3 separate regions of the Homo sapiens genome follow, and all the other regions are linked to region 1. The links are contacts of gene promoters, found by promoter capture Hi-C in blood cells and fetal thymus (Javierre and others, 2016). All regions are on one chromosome and are shown on one strand. The core of a region is centred on a gene start or on the middle of the fragment in contact, and the rest is flanking DNA. Distances in the headings are between cores, read along the strand shown.

Region 1 (2,600 bases), core at 101-2,600:
CCTAGCTGCCCAGTGGGTTCCCAAAGGCTCCAGGGTGCTTTTGACGTTGAGCTGGGCCTGCCCAGTCTTGCCTCCCGGGGCCGCCAAGCCAGGGCCCCCCGGCAGCCCGCTCCAGGCTGCATCACAAGGCAAAGGGGCTGCCCAGGCATGGCCAGGTCCATGGCTGCTGGAGAGCATGCAAAGCACCCGAGCAGGAGCCTTGTTCCCATGGAGACAGACAGAAAGGACTCCAACTCACTCTGAAGTGTACCTGCAGGGAGCCAGGTGCCAGACTGTACCTGGAGGCAGAAACCTGAGCCTGGATTCTCACCACTTCCCTCTGTGCCACCAACACATCCTCAGGCCTTCTTCTCAGGACCCCCAGCAAGACACGAGTTCCAGAAATAAGACATCCCAGCCCACTTCCCGCTCAGCCACCCCCAGAGGGGCCTCTCTGGTTGAAAACAACGCCTGGGGCCAGCAGGCTTGGCACAGCTGTGGCTGTCAGCCTGCCGAGCACCGTCCGGCCTGAGGAATGTGCAGACCCACATGTGCTGGAGCATCCCGCTGGGGCACAGTGACAGGAAACTGAGCAAAACAGCTCGTTGGCACTGATATGCCCCTCCCACCTCCCAGCTCCTGACTCCTATGGGCTGTTGGCTGCCCTGGAAGTGCAGGCGGCAAGCCCAGGCCCTTCAAGAGAGCCAGGCAGTGTGGCTCTGGGCAAATCACTCCCCCTCTCTGGGCCTGTTTCTGCTTCTCTTGGTGGATGAAGGACGCTGTCCTGCCAAGCTCAGAATGGCAGTGATTTTATGACATGCTCTCCTTTCTGGGAGGACGGTCCATTCTCCTCATGCCCTCATTCATGTGGGATGGGGCATGCCCCCAAGACACATCAAGCTATCCCACTAGCAGCCCTTGGCTGTAGAAAGCCCCCCCACCCAGTGCAGGGATAAGGGTGACCCTTCAGAGTTGAAAGGGGTGACCAGGAACCTGGGAGAGTCCCAGGAAAGCCCAGGGTTGGAGCTTCAGGGCCAAAGTGGTTAACTGAAAATATTCATTATCACCCCGCCCAGGCTGGAGGCCCCTGGCTTCCAGTTTTGAAGCAGAGGTCAGCTGGGCGGTGTAGGACACTGCTCCCGGGTTGACCAATGGGCCACATCAATGGGTCTGCTGTTTGGGGTCAAGATCCCAAGACCCCAGGGGAAGTCAACATCCATCTGAGGCTCTCTCAGGCCCTGCAAGCCATCTCTGGCCTCACTGCCCTCCCCTTTAGAAATGTGGGAATGAGGCTCAGAGAGGTTGAGCTGCTTGCCAAGTTTGCATAGCCAAAAGGCGTCTGAACGAAACTGAGCATTCGGGGTTGGACTTCCCCTCTTCGCCGCCTGCTCTGCTCTCCCAGGCACTACTGAGCGCGCTCGCGGTCGCCAGGAGCGGATTGGGCCCCCGCCGCGCGCAAGCCTTGGTGACAGGTCAGCCCGCCCCTAGGGGAGGCAGAGGGAAGCCCCGAGGAGGCACCCGGCCCGCTGGGGCGCGCTGCCCGGGGCTTTAGGGCTTTTTCTTGTGGGCCGGCCGAAGCTCCCCGGGGTTGAAAGGAAAGGCTCGGGAATTTCGCAGCCAGCACAGAACGGTTGGATTTAAACTAAAAATACCCGCCCGCCCGCAGCTGTCACGCCGGGGCCCCCGCCCCCGCGCCGGGCGCGCCTCCCCAGGTCCCCCAGACTTTCGGCGCCCCCGATTCCCGGGGCTGTGTCAGAGCTGGGCCAGGGGCTGAGGACCCCACCCGCCCGGCCCCCGGCCCCCGGCCCCCGGCCCCAGGCCTGGCCTCCCGGCCCCGTGCCACTTACCCTCCCGGAGCGTGGAGGAGCGCGGCGCCGCGGGTAGCTGGGGCCGAGCCTCCTTCCCTCCTCCCTGCGTCCCGGGCGGCTCCGGGGCGGGGCAGGGCTGGGGCGGGCCCGGACACCGCGAGTACCCCCGCCCCCGCCGGGACCCGCCCGGTGGCCCCGCGGGAGAGGCCGCGCCCCTCTCCGCACGCGCTCAGCGGAGGCCCCGGGTGCGCAACCCCAGCCCGGCGGACATCCTGCGTGGCCCCGGGGACCAGGGCCGAAGAAAAGCCTCACCGCTCCCTGTCGCGGACCCGGGGCGGGGGTTAAGGGGGGGGTCCTGTCCACGCTTGCCTGGAAAGCAGCCCGGAGCCCTGGCCCCTGTCTGTCTCCCCGACACACACACAGCCACCCACCCTCTTCTCATCCTAGGGGATGGCGCGGAGCTGCCTCTCCGGGAAAGTTGGATCTGTGCGCCCAGACATGGAAAAGGGATTAGGACACCGGCAGATCTTGCCCTCACAGAGCGGAGGTGGGGGCCTTGGAAGGGGCACACCGCCCGTAGGCGCGAAATCCAAGAAGAAAATGACACTCATCAGCCAGCCTCGCGCGGGGAGAAAGGGCGGGGTGGGGGGTAGTGGCACCCTGCCCGTCCTCTCCCACCCCCACAGTCCGGGCCCACAGTCCAGGAGTCACAAGGGATGTGAATCCCCAGGCATAATGTGAACCCCCAACAAACCCAAGGCCTCAGAATGCGCCTCACCTCTCCCTCCCCACCAGCAGAAACATCCTCCCACT
Region 2 (2,600 bases), core at 76-2,575, 390 kb before region 1:
GACGGAAACTGAAAAACTGTGACAGACCAGAGGAAACTGGGTAGATACTGACAACTAAATGTGATATGACACCTTGGATTAAAGACATTATCCCTTACTGTCTAGTGGTTAGAAAAAAATAAAAATAAATTTTTTGAAAAAGAGGACATTAGTAGAAAAGCTGTCAAAATCCAAATAAAGTCTGGAGTTAATAGTAATGGGCCAATGTTAGTTTTCTTAGTTGTGACAAACACTGACATGAGATAATATCAATGGGGGAAACTAAGTGAGGGGCATATGAGAACTCCGTACCATTTTTCCAACTTTTCTGTAAATCTCAAATTATTCCAAAATAAAAAGTTATTAGGAAAAAAAGGGGGAGGGGTAGAGACAGGATGTGAACCCAGGTTTGTCCAATGCCAGTATCACACAATACTAGTATATTACACGGTGAAAAGAACACTGGACTTGAGACTGGAAGCCATTTTCTGCCACTTGATATGTGTGTAATTTGGGGGAAGGTCACACACTGATGCTTGTTTTCTTCCTCTGTAATATGGAAAGAACATCTACTTTCCTCCCCTATGGAGTGTTGTGAATATGTCTTAAATATATATAACTTAGAAACCCCTATGTAAATATAAGGTACAAAGAAACCCATAAACATAAGACTGTGCACATACCTACACTACATATAGAAGTGGCTGTGATTTATTTTTTTTAATTAGGAGAGTAGAAAACTGCATGTATATTACAATAGCTTATATGCCCATGAAACTATTCACTATAGAAGGGTTTTTCCTCCCATTAAACTGATGGAAGGAAAGAATCTGAATTTCAGGAAGTTTTTCTAAGCTTATTAAAAAGCTTACTGGAACAAGACCTCTATTGTATATTTAATTAGCTGCTCATAAAGTCAACCCTCAGAGCACTCTTGATTCATCATACAGCACTAAATTCCAGTCACATTTTATGAAAGTTGATCACAATTCATCTGATCCTTAAAGTCAATAGGAAGTAACCGACTGATTCTGGATAAACCTTTTCAGGCTAATATTCCTGCAATAAAAACTGGCACATCTTTACCTAAAAATACATGCAGAAAACAGGAGGAAGGCGGAAAATACACCCCCATTTCTTCTCTCCAAGCCCCAGAAAATTTATTTAATCCTTATATAATCCTAAATGGAGACGGGGAGTATGTCCATAACTAGGCTTACAACTGCGCCAGCATTAAACTTTTTTGACTCCCAAAATGCTTTTTCCCTGCCCTAAGAAATAATCCCTCCTTAGTCACGCTCTCCCAGGTCCGTCTCCTGGCAATCTTCCTGCTGTAAAGCACTGGTTTTTAGTGTTCTGTGATGCCCAGGGGCATTACTATGATAGAAAGAACTGGAAACTAGGAGTCAGGATATTAGGATTCTAGAATTGTCTCTGCCATTGACTAGCAATTTAACTTACAGCAAATCACTCTCTCTCCTGAGGCTCTTTCTCATTTTTACAAAAATAAGTGGGTTGGATTAGATAGTCAGTGAGGTCCCCTTCCAATCTTCAACTTCTAATTTAAATGTAATTTGGTCCCTAAAGTTATTTTCCTTTGTATTCATCAGAAGGATCAGGCTCAATGACTATGAAAATTACCAGACTAAAAACTGCCAGATGATGACCCTCGAGTCCAATTTCTCGTTACTCAAAAAAGTTTTTAAAACCCCTAAACATTCAGAAGCAGTTAAGCGCGTGTGCGCGTGCGTGTACGCGCGCGCGCGCGCACACACACACAAAGAAAGAAAAAGAAAAAAAAAAATCCCAAATTACCTTAGGAAGCAAAGCTTAGTTTTTCCTAAGAGATCACTACTTGCAGAAAAGTTAGGGATCAACTGTGGCCAATTAATGGATCTCATAGAAAAGTAAATTGATTTAAGTACAAAATAAGGACCTTTTTTGGCAGAAAAAAATAAGAGTATCTATCTACAAACCAAAAGGACCATACATTAAGTGACCATCTGACAGAAATCTGAAGTATAGCTCCCTGGCTGGTTCTAAATTAGAAAAAAAATCTTTCATTGAAGGGAGAAAGAGTAGGAATCCACGGCCTAAAATTTGGATTCAATATCACCTTTGCTAATAGTCTTAGAACTTTCCCCAACATTCTTATTCTCTTCTGATTCACAAAATTTTAATATGCAGTCTATGAACCAACCCAAAATAAATTCAATTGTTCTAAACTTTTTGCACTGTGGCCTTGAAAACTTTATTTTTGGAGACAAAGTCTGGCTCTACTGCCCAGGCTGGAGTGCAGTGGTGCCATCTCAGCTCACTGCAACCTCTGCCTCCCAGGCTCAACTCATCTTCCCACCACAGCCTCCCAAGTAGCTGGGACTACAGGCATACACCACCACCGGCTAATTTTTGTATTTTTTCTAGAGACAGGGTTTCGTTGTGTTGCCCCTTGTGAACTCAAACAATCTACCTGCCTCTGGCTCCCAAAGTGCTGGAATTACAGGCACAACCCATCATGCCCAACCTAGCCTTGAAAAGTTGAATCCATATTTTTAAGAGAAAAAAATCAACATTAAAAAATTAGTCACAATACCCAGATAAAATTTCTCCTAAGACTACCT
Region 3 (2,600 bases), core at 60-2,559, 380 kb before region 1:
CCTTTGTTCTCATAAAATCACAAAGGAGAAAACAGGCAGGGCAGGGAAGCTGGCCCAAGACCAACAAAGACTCAATTCTATCTGGAAAATAAGCCCTAGACCTCCAATGTTTCTCAGGCCCGGTTTCACCTCAAGACACCAACCTCACTCAAGTATGTGGATCCTATTCCTACAAACCAGCAGGTAAAGAGCTTGGAAAAGGAGGAGTTGCAAATTCACTCAGTGTCCAGGTTCTGTTCCTGGCATTTCAAAGGACAGAGATTTTTTTTTTTTCTTAGCAAACACAACATTTCTCATAAATGCCCTACCCCACCCTAAAACTTTCACAGGGTTTAGAAAAAAATGATAGGTAGCTGGTTTCTAAGAATCAATCTGAGAAAAAAAGTGGAAAAAAAAAACAGAGAAATGAAAGGTTACATTTATCAACATTTAGGCTCTAAATAAAGAGAAAATAGATACATTATATAGTAAAAATAAATATCAAACAATAAAGAAATACAGAAATAACATCTCTAACCAAAAATACCTGAAAAGATTAAGGTTTCTATCAGCTCTCACAAAAAACCATGTGTAAGAAAATAATACAAACTACTGGAATGGAATTCATTAAAAAGTTGATATTTAAAAAGGAAATTAAGCAAAGCACTACACTCTGTGATATCTAGTCCCAAATGTACTCTGAAAAGTACTGCCCCCACTCATGACTGCCTGACTTCTGCCGACCTGTAACCTTACGTTCAGATTATTCACCCAGCTTCTCAGTAAACTATCGCAAGAACAAAAAACCAAACACCGCATATTCTCACTCATAGGTGGGAATTGAACAATGAGATCACATGGACACAGGAAGGGGAATATCACACTCTGGGGACTGTGGTGGGGTCGGGGGAGGGGGGAGGGATAGCATTGGGAGATATACCTAATGCTAGATGACACATTAGTGGGTGCAGCGCACCAGCATGGCACATGTATACATATGTAACTAACCTGCACAATGTGCACATGTACCCTAAAACTTAGAGTATAATAAAAAAAATAAAAATAAATAAAAAAATAAAAAAAAAAAAAAAAGAATGCTATCCTATTGCTGCCTCATCACCATTCACCAGCAATTTCCACAACAGAAGAGTAATCCCTGTTGGCTGAAAGCCTATAGCATATTATGCATCCTCCCTGACTGACCAACTGAAAGTGTTTAATCCTGTATTTCAATCCTATGTGCTCAATCCAAGTGATCCTAGCAGTTATACTACAGAGGCTTGGGGTATAGTCTTAATCCATAAAATGTACTTCTGTAATTTTATATGAATTCTTATTTAGAAAATTTCTCTTAAAACTCTGTTCTCACTAAAATATGACCAATTAGACTAGAATTTCCTTGGATATAGGAGCTGCATATCTTACCCTTACCTGTATTACCCACTGTACAGAACCACATCCAGGACATGGTAAACAAAAACTGCAGGTTGTTAGAATGAAAACAATGTCCACCTGAGTGACATTAAAACCTCAAACAGCTTCTATTTGCCTTTCATAATTTCTATCACAGATTTTTAGAGCTATTCATAGACACACATACACAACATACATGTTATTCTTTTACTGGAGCACAGCTCCATAAGAACAAGACATGAGTCTCATTCTTTGCACCTCTTAAATTTCCTGCTACAATGTTCTGTATATACATTTAAGTAAATATTTGACAAACTGAATTAGAGACTCATGAATGTCCACACAATAATATACAGAACAGAATCATGGATGGATCAAGATATATTTCTATTCGGTTTGGAAACACACATCTATCCCACTCCTACCAGCCCTGAGAGATGAGTGCAGGAGAGAGGATGTACAAGGACATAAAGAACAACAATTTAACCCTTCCAATTATATTTTCCATAAGGTTACAATGTTTAAATTAATTTTCATTCATTTAGTGGACAATAACTGGCCCCAGTAATGCACTTTCTATTTAGGGAAAACAAATCCAAGACTTAAAATTCCAACAGGTAATCTGTAATATAAAAACAGGAAAACCTATAATTTTGCCAATTTTTACTTTCTTGGCATGTTTAAACAGATTTTTTAAACTTGGCCTTAATGAAAAGATCTGAATCTCTGCTGGCAGGTAAAGGTTCTAGTTTCACAGATAAACTGGCTACCATTAACTGCTTTTGCAGAGCCAAAATAACTCCACATGACTGTTTTTCAACTATAGATTTTAAATTTCTGGTCAAACAACTTACCCTCATGAAACTAGTGAGGTTGTTTCATAGTTTCCACATATTATGCACTTAGAAATACAGTCATGCACCCAATAACAATGTTTTAGAGACTGACCCCGTATAAGACTATGGTCTCGTAAGATTATGATACTGTATTTTTACTGTACCTTTTCTATGCTTAGGTATATTTAGATATACAAATACCACTGTGTCACAACGGCCTACAGTATTCAATATAGTAACATGGTGTACAGGTTAGTAGCCTAGGAACAAAAGGTCATACCATATAGCCTAGGTGTATAATAGGCTATACCATGTAGGTTTATGTTAATTAAGTACACTCTATGATGTTCACACAATGACAAAATCGCCTAA

Evidence for each region. Contacts are between HindIII fragments. The CHiCAGO score rates a contact against its expected background, and 5 or more counts as called.
Region 2: a contact is called between a fragment that was not itself captured here and the fragment with the promoter of SYNE3-AS1 in region 1, in 1 of 17 cell types (M0 macrophages). The highest score is 5.2, in M0 macrophages.
Region 3: a fragment that was not itself captured here is called in contact with the fragment with the promoter of SYNE3-AS1 in region 1 in 3 of 17 cell types (M0 macrophages, monocytes and total B cells); the score reaches 5.7 in M0 macrophages.

What each region holds. Positions count from the first base shown.
Region 1 is chr14:95,514,770-95,517,369 of GRCh38, forward strand. It overlaps SYNE3-AS1 (SYNE3 antisense RNA 1), which reads left to right and starts at 1,351. Exons shown (of 2, transcript NR_188030.1): 1 at 1,351-1,451; 2 at 2,235-2,600. SYNE3 (spectrin repeat containing nuclear envelope family member 3) reads right to left here and starts at 1,881. Exons shown (of 18, transcript NM_152592.6): 1 at 1,827-1,881. RefSeq lists silencers at 1,283-1,577, 1,327-2,136. The HindIII fragment of the contact is 27,487 bases long and covers 1-2,600 here.
Region 2 is chr14:95,121,202-95,123,801 of GRCh38, forward strand. The region is part of intron 8 of DICER1 (dicer 1, ribonuclease III); the gene reads right to left. Among named protein-coding and RNA genes, the nearest start is that of MIR3173, 15 kb to the right of the region's middle. The HindIII fragment of the contact is 962 bases long and covers 845-1,806 here.
Region 3 is chr14:95,137,940-95,140,539 of GRCh38, forward strand. The region is part of intron 1 of DICER1 (dicer 1, ribonuclease III); the gene reads right to left. It overlaps MIR3173 (microRNA 3173), which reads right to left and starts at 47; the gene lies at 1-47. The HindIII fragment of the contact is 3,001 bases long and covers 1-2,600 here.